Linked DNA regions of Homo sapiens: region 2 is linked to region 1. Evidence: promoter capture Hi-C in 16 types of primary human blood cells and fetal thymus (Javierre and others, 2016). All regions are on one chromosome and are shown on one strand. Each heading gives the region's core, a stretch centred on a gene start or on the middle of the fragment in contact. The rest is flanking DNA. Distances are from core to core; before and after follow the strand shown. Region 1 holds the start of WDFY4 (WDFY family member 4). Region 2 overlaps ARHGAP22 (Rho GTPase activating protein 22).

Region 1 (6,447 bases), core at 2,057-4,556:
TTGACAGAATAGAGAACCAGGAAAGACCCCCATGCACATGACAACTCAACTCACAACAGAGCTATCATGGATCAGTGACTAAAGAATGGCCTATTAGGCCGGGTGTGGTGGCTCATGCCTGTAATCCCAGCACTTTGGGAGGCCGAGGTGGGTGGATCACCTGAGGTCAGGAGTTCAAGACCAGCCTGACCAACACAGTGAAACCCCATCCCTACTAAAAAACCCAAAAATTAGACAGATGTGGTGGCGCACGCCAGTAGTCCCAGCTACTGGAGAGGCTGAGGCAGAGGAATCGCTTGAACCTGGGAGGTGGAGGTTGCAGTGAGCTGAGATCGCACCACCGCACTCCAGCCTGGGTGACAGAACAAGAATCTGTCTCAAAAAAAAAAAAAAAAAATTAGCCAGGTGTGGTGGCATGTACCTGTAATCTCAGCTACTAGGGAGGCTGAGGCAGGATAATTGCTTGAACCTGGGAGGTGGAGGTTGCAGTGAGCCAAGATCATGCCATTGCACTCCAGCCTGGGTGACAGAGCAAGACTCCATCTCAAAAAAAAAAAAAAAAAAAAAGAATGGCCTATTAAATAAATGGTGCCAAGACTCTTGGTTATCCATATGGGAAAAGCAGAATAAAATAAAGTTTCTTCCCACCTCACGCCATACACAAAAGCCATTTCCAGGCAGACTAGAGACTTCAGTGTAAAAAGTAATATTATAACATTTTTTGAAAATAATATGAGAATAATTTTACAACCTTATAGTGGAGAATTTCTTAGATAACACATAACAAGTATAAATCATAAAGCGACAGGTGGATAAACTTATTTGAAACTAAGAAATTCAGTCATTAATAAAAACCACAGGAATATAAGGAGACAAGGCACCAACAAATGAAAAATATTTGTTATATATATAAATGACAAAAAGTAGTACCCAGAATATGTATTGAATTATGGCAAATCAATAGGATAAAAGACAGGTAACCCGATGAGAAATGGCCAAAAAATGTGAACAGGAAAAGGGACCCCAAATGGCCAATAAACATATGAAAAAGATGTCCAACCTTAGTAATTTGGTCAATGCAAATTAAAAACATGCTAAGATAGCTTTTCATTTCTACCAGATTGGCAGAAATACAGTACCAGACAATATCAAATGCTGATGAAGAAGTGGAGCAACAGAAACTTTGGTGCATTGCTGAGGGGTGGGTAAAATGAGGCAAAAACTTTGGAAAACAACGTGGTGACATCCAGTAAGGCTGACGATATGTACAACCTATGACCCACCAATTCTATTTCTAGAGTATATACCCAAGATAAATTCTTGCACACATGCCCCAAGATGCATGTACAAAAATAGTTCTAGCGGCACTGCTTATAATAGAAAAAAAAATAAACTCTTGAAATACCTAAAATGCCATCAACAGCATCTCAGATAAATATATTGAGGTACACTCATCTAATAGAATACTGTACTGCAGAAAACTTTAATTATCTACAGGTACATGCAACAATATGAAGAAATTTCAGAAACAAACTTTTGAACCAATTAGGCAAATTTTAAAAGAATATTTAATTCCATGTTTACAGAGTTCAACAACTTGCAATCATACATATATAGCGATTTAAATATGGGATGTAAAATTAGAAAAAGAAGCAAGGGAACAATAAACCCAAAATTCTGGACTGTTGCTGCTTCTGAAGAGGGAAGGTGAAAGATGGGCATGAAGAGGACCTCAGAGATGATGCTGATCTTTAAAAAAATCTAAGGTGTCAGCACACAGGGTTTATGCTGTTTTTATTACTTCTATCTTATTATGGTCTTTCTAAATTTTCTTTTCTTTCCTTCTTTTTTTTTTTTTTTTTTGGAGATGGAGTTTCATCGTGTTGTCCAGACTGGTCTTGAACTCCTGACCTCAGGTGATCTGCCCCTCTCAGCCTCCCAAAGTGCTGAGATTACAGGCGTGAACCACTGCGCCTGGCCGAAATTTTCTTTTCTTTCAACACAGAAAATCTTTCCAAGTTCATGAAAGAATAGCCCATGTGCTCAGGATGGACAGACAGGAAGGGCCTCCCTGACCTGACCCTGTTCCCTACCTCTCTGGCCAGAACCCCAGGCATGCCCCTTACCCGGCTCTGCCACACCAACCTCCACGAGGTCTCCTCCTCCAGACCCTTATCAAGAACACTTCTCAGAAACCCACAGGACTCGGCCTCCCTCACAGGTCCCCTCTCAGAAGACTAGAGCCATCCCCACCCTCCCAAGACCCCCACCCTACCTGCTATTCTCCCACCTGCTGAGCACCGTAGACCCCTGTCCGCTTTGACCAGAGCCTGGCAGGGCGTGGTTTCTCAATACCTATTTGTTAAATAACTAAATGAATGACTATACATAAACTCATATTAAAATTAGTGTGCTCCATGGAAAGGGTAATGCATAGAGCCCTTAGTTATCAAACCAGCCCCCCCACACTTTAGATGAGTTGGGACAAAGGATCGGTTTAGTGTTCTAGAAGTTTCATTTCAGGGGAAAAGAAGAATCAGTCCTTACTGAGCAGGTGGCCCTGCTTAGGCAGAAAATGCAGGCGTTTCAATGGTTTGCTGTAATAATTCAGATGAGGGAAGTGAGCCCAGGGAGGCACCTACTTACCAGAACCCAGTGGAGTAATGACAGGGCCGGGATAGACCAGCTCCCTCTGAGGCCCGTTGGAAATGGCCCTCCAACTCTGCACTCCTCAGAGGCCTATGAGGGAGCTTGGAGGGCGAGCCTCACTGTCCTGTCGGCCTGCTCTCTCCGCCCCCTCGACAACCAGGAAAGCCCGTGTCAGCCCTTCCCAGGGTTCCCTTCATAGCAGGACCCCGAGAAAGGACTTGACCTACCGTCAGAGGTCGAGGAGTGCTGCTGGAGCCCAGCCTGACTCCCAAACTTCAGCAGTGACACACACTCAGGCAGACCCAGGCCCTGGAGTGGCCCTGACCACATGGGCCCCCCACGCCACACACACTTCCTGCTCCCCAGCTCACCTCCTCTCCCACATTCACAAACCCAAACCAGGCACTGGGTCACATGTGCCCCATAGTCAGCCTCCCAGGAGGCAGCCAGTAGGCCCCACGCTGACAGGCGGCGCCCATATGCCCACCTCTAGGCTGGCCTGGCTGGGCCAAGAGCAAGGTGGCCTACCTGGAGGGGTGGCCGTCAGCGCCTGTAGACATCAGAAGGCATGGGCCCCCTATCCCCAGCTGCAGCCCCTCAGGCTCGGGGGAAGAGGACCCGGCCCCACATCGTCAGTCCTCAGCGCCGTTTCACTCTGAATCACTGGAGCTGGGTCTCTGCTCATTTCCTGGAGAAAGCAGAAGTGGAGAGCCGGCAGATGCCTGACTCTGCCCACTCTCCAGCCGACCACGGAGCTGCTGGAGTTCTGGCGGGTGACTTGGGTTCTGCAGCAAGGCCCCTTGGGGCTGGCTGTGCAGCCTCCGTGGTCAAGCGGTGCTGGTTGGGGCCAAGGACAAAATGGAAAGTACAGCCCAGCCCTAGAAGAGTAGGTCTGGATTCTGTGTCCCCTCTTCACTAGCCGTGTGACCACTGGTGCACACCTCTCCTCTCTGGGCCTCTGGCAAAATGAGAACAATGATGGTGTTAGGTGAATCTAATCAGAGGTGTGTTTAAGTGCACCCCTGGACATGGCATGGGTTGGGCAGCCCTCACCCCACCAAGCTCAGAGTTGCCCACTTGGATTTCTTCCTCCCCCATCCTCAGATAGAACTTGAACCACCAATGAGGGGAGTCCTCCTGCGGCCAACACTGAGGCAAGGATGAGAGGACATCTAAAACCATAGAATGGAAGTCTCTGAAACTCAGACTCCAAATTCTCATTCCTCTGAGTATATAAACTAGGCTGAATTATCCATGTCACCTATCCATAACGTCATCTCCACAGTACAAACAAGCATGTCCATTCACACACAATCCTGCTTGTGCTCTGTAAAAGGAGAATTTTGCCAAAGAGCAAGGGCACTTGTTAGCGCTAATGCCTGATCCTTGATCCTCAGTGCAGCTCATCGCTTGTCTCTAGCTCACAAAACCAGTGGACCATGCATGACTGACTGAGAGGCAGCAACAACATCACTTGTTATGACATGGAGTAAAGCTCCAAGATTGGTTTAAAGAGGAAAATAACATTTGTCACAAAACCTCAACCTCCACCAGTGCAAACTTGTCAGTAGACAGCAGCCAAAATAGGAGATCTATCCAGCTGCACTCCAGTCTGGACAGCAAGAGCGAAGCTCCGTCTCAAAAAAAAAAAAAAGAAAAAAAAGAAAAGAAAAGAGAAATTGAAAGGATACATGCAGTGCCAGCCAAGGGAAAGAGAAAACCTTAGAGAATTTGCAGTGAAGTGTTTGTTGTATATGATGAAAACCCCTCGTCATTGTCACCAATGAAATCATAAATAAAATCTACAAGAAGATATTGCCTGAAATCAGAGGCCTATGGTAAGAGCGGATTAGACAGAGGAACTTCCACAGAGGCAGGAAGGGTGGCCAGCATGGGACAGGCCAGGACCCCATGCCTGTGAATGCCCAGAGGAAGCGCGGAGAGTCTGTCATAGTGGGATCTCGCAAAGTCTGCTGGAGGGCCCACCTGCACCCAGGTCTCCTACCTTCTACCCACCCCAGCACCTTGCCGGGTAGCCAGCAGCAGGCAGGTAAAGAGCACTAAATTCAGAGCTAGAAACTCAAGGTTGAAATTCTCACTATCTTAACTGAGATAATTGACATCTTATTTGCAGAATGAATGAATGCCTTGTTAGAAGGAACAAATCAAATAATATTTGCAAGAGAGGTTTTTTTTTTTTGAGACGGAGTCTCGCTGTCGCCCAGGCTGGAGTGCAGTGACGCGATCTCGGCTCACTGCAGGCTCCGCCCCCCGGGGTTCACGCCATTCTCCTGCCTCAGCCTCCTGAGTAGCTGGGACTACAGGCGCCCACCACCTCGCCTGGCTAATTTTTTGTATTTTTAGTAGAGACGGGGTTTCACCGTGTTAGACAGGATGGTCTCGATCTCCCGACCTCGTGATCCGCCCATCTCGGCCTCCCAGAGTGCTGGGATTACAGGCGTAAGCCAGCGCACCCGGCCAAGAGAGTTTTTAAATACTGAAAAGGGCTGTGCAAATGCAAGCTATTATTAGTGAGAGAGTTGCCAAAGCTAAGACACTGAAGCAGCCAGGGCAACTATGAACTGCTAATGTAAATGTGTATTTTTGTTAAAGGGCAATGTAAGATTCTCTGATTTTTAAACAATTGCCCCAAAATGGCAGTTTTACTTCTGCACCCAGTTATGGTGGTGTAACTGGTATAGGACATACCCTCCCATTGAAAGCAACTATAGAATAGTTCAAATACACAAGATAATTGTTTTCAGGCATTGAATAGCAAGACTGTGATCCTTGAGATAAGGAAAACACACAAGGTGAGCCCCACAATTGCCCTGGAGTTTTTTCTAGTGATGCTTTTTCTGCTATGATGCAGGCAGGTGGGGCCCCAGAGACAGTAGTCTCCCTGAACTGAAAAGGTTTAAGTCAGAGTTCAAAGCTGCTGAAGGCTCTGGTATGTTCAGGGCAGGTTCCTGAGGAGAGTGTGCCTTGTGGGAACTCATTGTGTGTGCCCTTGGCCAAGGATTCCTATGTGTGCACAGGGTGAGACTCCAAGAGACCCAGCAGAGGTCAACTGACCCAAGGCCGAGCACTGAAGGAGGTAACAGAGAATGTGCAGTGCTTGGAATGTTGCAGTCGCATCCCATGGAGTGTGGAGAGACCTTGCTGAGCATTGTGGGACTTCACTTTACACCTCAGAGCCCTCACCCCACCAAGCTCAGAGCTGCCCTCTTGTATTCCTTCCTCCCCAATCCGCAGACCAAACTTGAAACACCAATCAGAGGAGTCCTCCTGCAGGCTAAACATGAAGGTAATGATGAGAGGAAATTTAAAACCATAAAACTCTGAAGCTCAGACTCCACACTGAAGAAGTAAGAACCACAGCCTAGAATAAAAGCCATAAAGTTGGAACAAGTTCAAAATTGAAATAAAATAGCTCCATGTGATAAGTTACTTTTATGAGTTAACTTGACTGGGCCATGAGGTGCCCAAACATTTGGCGAGACATTATTCTGGGCATGTCTGTGAGGGTATTTTTGGATGAGATGAACATTCGAATCAGTAGGCTGAGTCAAGCAGACTGTTCTCCCTAATATGCATGGGTGGTTTCCAATCGGTTGAAGACCTGAATAGAACAGAAGGCTGAGTAAGAGGACACTTTGGCTGCTTGACTCCTTGAGATGGAACATCAGTCATCTCCTGCCCTTGGACTGGAACACTTACAACACTGGCTCTTCTGATTCTCAGGCCTTTGAACTCAGACTGGACCTTACACCATTGGCTCTTCTGGGTCTCCAGTTT
Region 2 (6,448 bases), core at 1,687-4,186, 140 kb after region 1:
TGAGCTTAGCTTTTTTGTATTAGGGTAAGTGAACTGCTGGAATAACCCCCAAATCTCAGGATCTTGACACAAGAATGTATTTGTCTTTCATATAAAGTCAAAAATGAACACTTGTGATTGGCAGGCAGTTGATCTCCCAGCATCTTCCTATTTCATGGTTTCGCCATCTGAAACCTGTGGCTTGCAAAAGTATCCTAGTTGTTTCCATGCTAGGAGGCCATCATGCCTGGGAGATGTGTTGGTCCAGGCCTGGAAGTGGCCCCATCATCCCGTCACAGCCCATTGGCCAGAATGCAGTTGCATGGCTACACCTCGGAGCAAGAGAGTCTGGGAAATGGAGTCCACCTCTTTCCAGGAGGAAGGCAAGGCTGGTTTGGTGAACAGTCAGTAGTCCTGCCATTCTGTATAATGATCTGTTACCTTGGAGTAAGAAAGACACCTTCCTACCCTCACAGAATTAACAAGTTCAGGAAGCAGGCAGGAAGGCAGACATTGACTCACAGGATGAGAAAGGCTAGGAGGAGAGTAAAAAGGCAATTGTGTGAGCCTGGAGGAGGGGACCCTAATGCACGCAGGGAGTGCATGGGACTTCCAGGATAAAGTGACAACGACCCTGCTCTTTGAAGGTTAAGTGAGAGTCAGCCAGGTGAAGAATCAGGGAGAGCAGCTGGGCAGAAGCAGCAATGGGCAAGCACAGTGGGCACGGGGTCTGTGTGTCTCCTTCACACCTTAGTTCCAAGGCGCTCAGCACATAGGTAACTGAATTTAATGTAAGGATTGGAAGCAACAGGAGGTTAAGCTTTCTGCCAGAATGAAAAGTTGTCCTCTGTGGCAGGAGAATGGTGTCGGGCAGTGGTTCTCAAGCTTTAGTGAGCCTCCGCCTCATCTGGAGGGCTTGCAAAAAACACTGCTGAGTGGGCTCAGGGTCCAAGGTGGAGAGGCTGCCCCTGGTGTAGAGATAGTGGGGGACTTAGAATCCTGGAAGGGTGAATGAGATGGGCCTCACAAGCGGACTGAGTGAGAGGAGGTTTGAGTTAATTGGGGGCAGGCAAAGCTATAACCAATGTTTTAATTCTAATAATTATTATTCCAAGAGGAGGAGGACCGTATAATGTATAAGATGCTGGTTTGTGCTTTGATCTCCTGGCCCTTTTTAATCCCTAGGCCACTTGCCTCAGGGGAAGGTGAGGTCTCTGCAGCAGAAAGCAGAAATCTCCTGCTCTCCCACCCCAGATAATTGATGTGGACAGGGTCGGGAAAGAGGCGTTCCCCTAGACTGGTCACCCTGCCCCCAGCAATGCCCCAGGAAGGTGATAGGCATGGTGCCACCAGGAAAGCAGGCTCCAGACACCAGGGTCCCGCCTCAGACAGACACACCATGGTCAAGAAAGGCAGGAGAGCTACCTAGCTTCCAGCCCCAAGTGACTGCAGGTAAAGACATCAGGTGACCAGGAGGGACCAAGAACAGCCCATCCCATTGCCAGGCCCCATGTAAGCCTGACCACAGCAAAGAGGACCCCTTCCCTCCATCTCAATAGTAGCTGGGACTCAGCTCCCTTCCAGCCTGGGAACATAGGGCTTGGAGATAGAATTAACATGATTCTTTCTAACAAATATCATATTTGTTGAGTGCCTGAGGTTGTAGACCAAGGTGTGTATGAGTGCTAGTGGGCTAAACATTCACTGAGTTCCTTCTAAGGAATGAAGCTGAGCACACCACGTTTATCCTCACCACACTCCTGGGACTAACCTCTACTAACCCATCTAACAGGCAAGGCCCCTGGGACTCTGACAAGCTAAGTAACTTGCTGGGATCCGAGGGCCGGTGAGCGGTGGAACTGCAGCTTGAGCCAGCTCTAACCCCAGAGCCCTGCTCTTCCTCAGCCTGCTGAGGCTAGCTCCCCCGGGGCAGGCATGAAGGAGCCAGGCCCCACAAAGGGACTGAGACTCAAGGACCCCCAGGTCCTGCCCACCTGGTACTTCTGTCTTGCCAGGGCAGCTGCCTGGCAAACCCTGCCCCTCCCAGCCCTTTGAAAGCTGTCTGCTCCTTGCAGACTTGATCCTGGGGGCCTCTCAGACCTGGGCTTTTTGCTGATGTGGGCATCCAGCCCCAGGCCAAGTTTAGGCCTCCCTTTAAATCCACAAGGAGCGGGTGGGGAGTGGAGAGGCCTGCTTTGGCACTCTGGGCAAAAAGAGTTGCTAAGATCCCAGAGCAGGCCTGTCCCCAAAAAACGGCCATGTTTGGTGAGATGAATTAGGTCATCCGTTAAGCTTTGTAACTCATTGCTAAAATCCGTCTTCTGGAATTAGCACAATGCTATTGAAGGGAACCAAGTGGGTTGGTGCTATCAAAGGGAACCAAGTGGGTTGGCTGCAGGCTTGAGACCAGAACCATAAGTCTTTCTAGTGAGTAACCGTAAATGGGGTGGGGCCGGGGGAGTGGAGATTAAGAGTCCTGGTTGGAGCAGGTTGCAGAAGCCAGCTCTGGCTAACTCTAGCAAAGGGGAAATTCACCAGAAACCAGGGGGTAGGATGTGATGGGAGTGACACTTGTGGAAGGGGCAAGCGGCTGGGCTGTCACGGGGCCAGGAGCTGGGAGGGGCGAGCGGGTGGTACTCTGTGCTGGGAAGGTTGAATCTCGCCTGGCTCTGCAATCCCGGCATGGCTCACTTGCCGAAAGCCCAAAGTCTCAGTATCTGTGCTTAAGCTACATGCCTACCCCTGACTACACTGGGGTGGTGAGGAAGGGCCTATCCACTCTGGCATCTGGACCAGCCCTCCCAAGACTTCGCCTAGTGGGGGCAAGGAGACTCCAAAGGAACTTGGGTGCCTTCCAGAGGGGAGAGTAGAAGACAAACAGCCAGTCTCTGTCAAATGTTCACTGCTCCAGATGGTCCATGACTGTATTTCTGCAGGGCTGAGTGTCACATCATTGGCCTTGCCCTTTCCAAGTGCCAGACAAGGGGCCAGGACGGGATGCCTTTTCAACAACATTGCACCGAGCCGATGGCCCCCCACACTCAGGAGCAATTCCTACTTGTGGGGAAGGACCTGAGTGTGCAGTGCTGAGGATTAGCCCGAGGAAGACGTGAATGGCCACCCTGGATCTGAGGAAAAGGAGGAGGAGGAGAGTGCTCTGTTTTCTGGTGCAGAAGGAGGTGAAGGGTACCACAGCTGCTCTGAGGCCTGGGTCTAGTCCCCATCCTGGAGCACCTGTCTGCTTTGGGCTGGGAGCCCCATATTTCTCAAGATCAGGGTCAGGAGACTCGGGGGCCAGCTGTACCATTCAGAGGCCTGGCAAGCTCTCTGCTCTCCCACAGAGGTCCATGCTCCTTCCCTCCCACTGGGCTCCTTGGGGCCTCCCCCCCAACTCCCCAAACACCAGATGGGAATCCTGCAGGCAATAGGAGGCCTGGACAGGGATGGCTTTGAGGTCTTGGGTTTTCAGCTCCAACCAGTCTTCAGAGACCATGGTAGTAGCAAAGCTAGCATTGTGTCCCATGGGAATCAGGGCCATGGGGTTGATTGTCGCCAGACACACCACACGCGGATGCAGATGTTGCCTAGGCAAGCTGGTGTCTGCATGTAGAAAGGAAGCTTCCGAGGAAGAGCTGGGGAGGCAAGCCTGGGAGCCATCTTCCTGTTTGTGCCCATTTTCCACACACTCTCAACAGACATCAAGGGCCTCACAGCATCTAGTCAGTGCTGTTCCAGACCACCCATCTCTCCAGGCCAGAGTCAGGGAGAGCTGGATGTGAGCATAGCCATGCTACTCAGGGACTGTGTGGGTTTTGACAAGTCACAGAGGGCTCCGTGCCTCAATGTCCCATAAACTGGGGGTGAGAATATTGCCAAGCACCTTGGGTTGTGGTGAGGATTCACTGAGAACCCAGATCCTGGCTCATAGTAGGTACCTGGTCTAGATAAGCTCCCCTCCTCCCTGCATGCTCTCTAATCATTAATCGTTATGATTAATAACAGCAACCCAATCCCATCACAATGCTGTGTGATGAGTGCTCTGATAGAGGTGTCCCTGACTGAGACACTTTTATCTTTAGCTTCAGGATTTCCCTTGGCCAACGGCACAGTAAGTAACCTCAGAGTTCAAAGCATTCAGCAAACAATGGAAAGGCAGAGCCACCAGAAATGTACACATGATTTTCATGACAGGTATGGTAATGCCATGTTAGCTAGCGGAGCCTCTTTCTCTACTGCCCGTATGGACCTATGTTGCAACACCAATTGGAATTGGATGGAATCTGTGCCCTGTTGCCAGGGTCACCCCTAACGGAATGGAGAGATCAGTAATCATCCCAGCTGGTGTCATACTGAATTGTTTAAAACACAAATCATAATTGATGCCAAGTAAAAGCTCCATGTGCCCATTAAAATATGGCATTATGGAAAAAGTAAAGTACATTTGAATCCTTAAAAATAAAACAAAAACTATGTGTTAGAAAGATCACTCAGGGTAGACCAACTGAGGGGCTTACAAGAACTGTAATGTCTGATGCTCATCTCCACCAATGTCTATTCTGTGCCCCCACCCCTACCCTGGCAATGTCGACAGAAAAGACCACACTGCCACAGGAGTAGCGGGGACCCCTGTGGGAGGCAGCGCAGAAGCCAGGCTGCTTAAAGCAGAGCCCTGAGTCTTTCGTGCATTTACAAGTTTATGTGTCAAGTTCTCCAGGATCAAGCCAGGGAGTCCTGATCACTAACAACATCTCTGCCTTGGGGGCCTGTTTAAGTGGCTTCCAGACTCAGCTCAGACCCTAGCTCTCAAGGGCAACCAGATTAGATTTCTTCCCTTCTCTGAATCTCAGTTTCCCCCTGTGTAAGACGAGAGGGCTGGCCCAGTGACCTCCGACGTGTCTGCTTGAACGAGTAGAATGGCACCAGCTGGCATTCTATAGCCAAGTTTGTCCAGAGGGAGCCAGTTCCTGCCCGTCTTATGGCTACACAAGGTCATTGAAGTCGCCCTCAGGCATGGAGCTTGTAGCTGCCTGGCCTTATCCAGCCTGCCCTTGGAGCAGATAGGAGACTGCTGCCTGCTGTCTTAAAGGGAGGCCTGACCTTGAAGGAGAGCCAGTGTGCACAGATTACTCCGCAGAGGAGACAGATACTGTGTGTCTGACATGCCCAGAGCATCCCTGATCACATTAGCCGCCGCCTGAGTGGGGAGGATGCTGATACCGGCCTATCTCGGCACCTGGTACCAGCCAGCCTGAGTCTTGGCCTGACCTCGTGCAGCCCCTGCTGAGGTTGTCTGCAGAGCGCCAGATGATGGGTAATGACAGAAATGAAATTAGATGAGAAGTTTGCCAGTGATCCCCACCCCTGAGATGGGAGTGGCTCTTACACTTCCTGGCTTTGCAGTGGGGTTCTCCTGTCTTAGCCTCACTTCTCTCAGCTCAGCACAGGACCAGGTGTGGGAAACTCCTGCAGGCTCCCTGGAAAGAGTCCCCTTGAGCAGGATCATTCCTTTGGCCAAAATCGTGTCCTAGAGCAGCGCTCTTCTATAGAGATGTAATGCAAGCCATGTTTGTGGTTGTAAATTTTCTAGTGAGTACACATGTGAAAATATCTGCATAAATATATACACCTACTACACACTCACAAGGACTAAAAATTTAAAATTTTTTTAAAACTAAAAGGAAAGAAAGCTAGTGAAATTGTTCTTAATAATGTATTTTTATTTAAACTACTGGCTCCAAAATACTATCATTTCAATATGTAATCAAAATAAACATTAGTGAAATATTCCACATTCTTTTTTGCTTCCAAGTCTAAATTGGTATTTACACTTAAAGCACATTTCCATGCAGACACTAAATTTTCACTGGAAGTACTTGATATATATTTACTTATTCTAATTTTTTAATTTTTTAAATTGACACATAATAATTGTACATATTCATGGGGTACATAGTGATGTTTTGATACATATATTGTACAGTGATCAGATTAGGGTGATTAGCATATCCACCATCTCAAGCATTTACCATTTATTTGTGTTGCGAGCATTCACTGTCCTCCTATTTGAAATTATGTAATATATTAATTAACTATAGCCATCTTTGATCGGCATTTAGATTTCATAAAATGTATGATTGAAAAGTAGAGTCACATACCCAAGTTATTCCAAACATACTTAAATGTTTTTCAGCAATGGAACTGAATGTCAGTTTTTAAACTAATGTAAATTAAATTAAATTGACAATTCCATTGCTCAGGCACACCTGCTTCATTCACATGCTCAGGACCCACATGTGTGGTGGCACCGTATTGGACAGCACAGGCCTAGATGAGAACACCAGCATAGAACAGGTGCTCTACAGGCAAAAATGAAAGAAGCAAGGGGAGAAAGAGAAAGAAGGAAGGATGAACAAAGAAAGAACGGCAGGGATGGGGAGGGGGTGGGAGCCTCAGACTTGGAGTAAGACAG

Evidence for each region. Contacts are between HindIII fragments. The CHiCAGO score rates a contact against its expected background, and 5 or more counts as called.
Region 2: a fragment that was not itself captured here is called in contact with the fragment with the promoter of WDFY4 in region 1 in 1 of 17 cell types (total B cells); the score reaches 7.8 in total B cells.

Annotation. Positions count from the first base shown.
Region 1 is chr10:48,681,732-48,688,178 of GRCh38, reverse strand. It overlaps WDFY4 (WDFY family member 4), which reads right to left and starts at 3,306. Exons shown (of 62, transcript NM_001394531.1): 1 at 3,178-3,306. RefSeq lists enhancers at 2,516-3,056, 3,075-3,374, 4,305-4,384 and a silencer at 4,035-4,084. The HindIII fragment of the contact is 16,271 bases long and covers 1-6,447 here.
Region 2 is chr10:48,544,332-48,550,779 of GRCh38, reverse strand. The region is part of intron 3 of ARHGAP22 (Rho GTPase activating protein 22); the gene reads left to right. Among named protein-coding and RNA genes, the nearest start is that of ARHGAP22-IT1, 36 kb to the right of the region's middle. The HindIII fragment of the contact is 1,326 bases long and covers 2,274-3,599 here.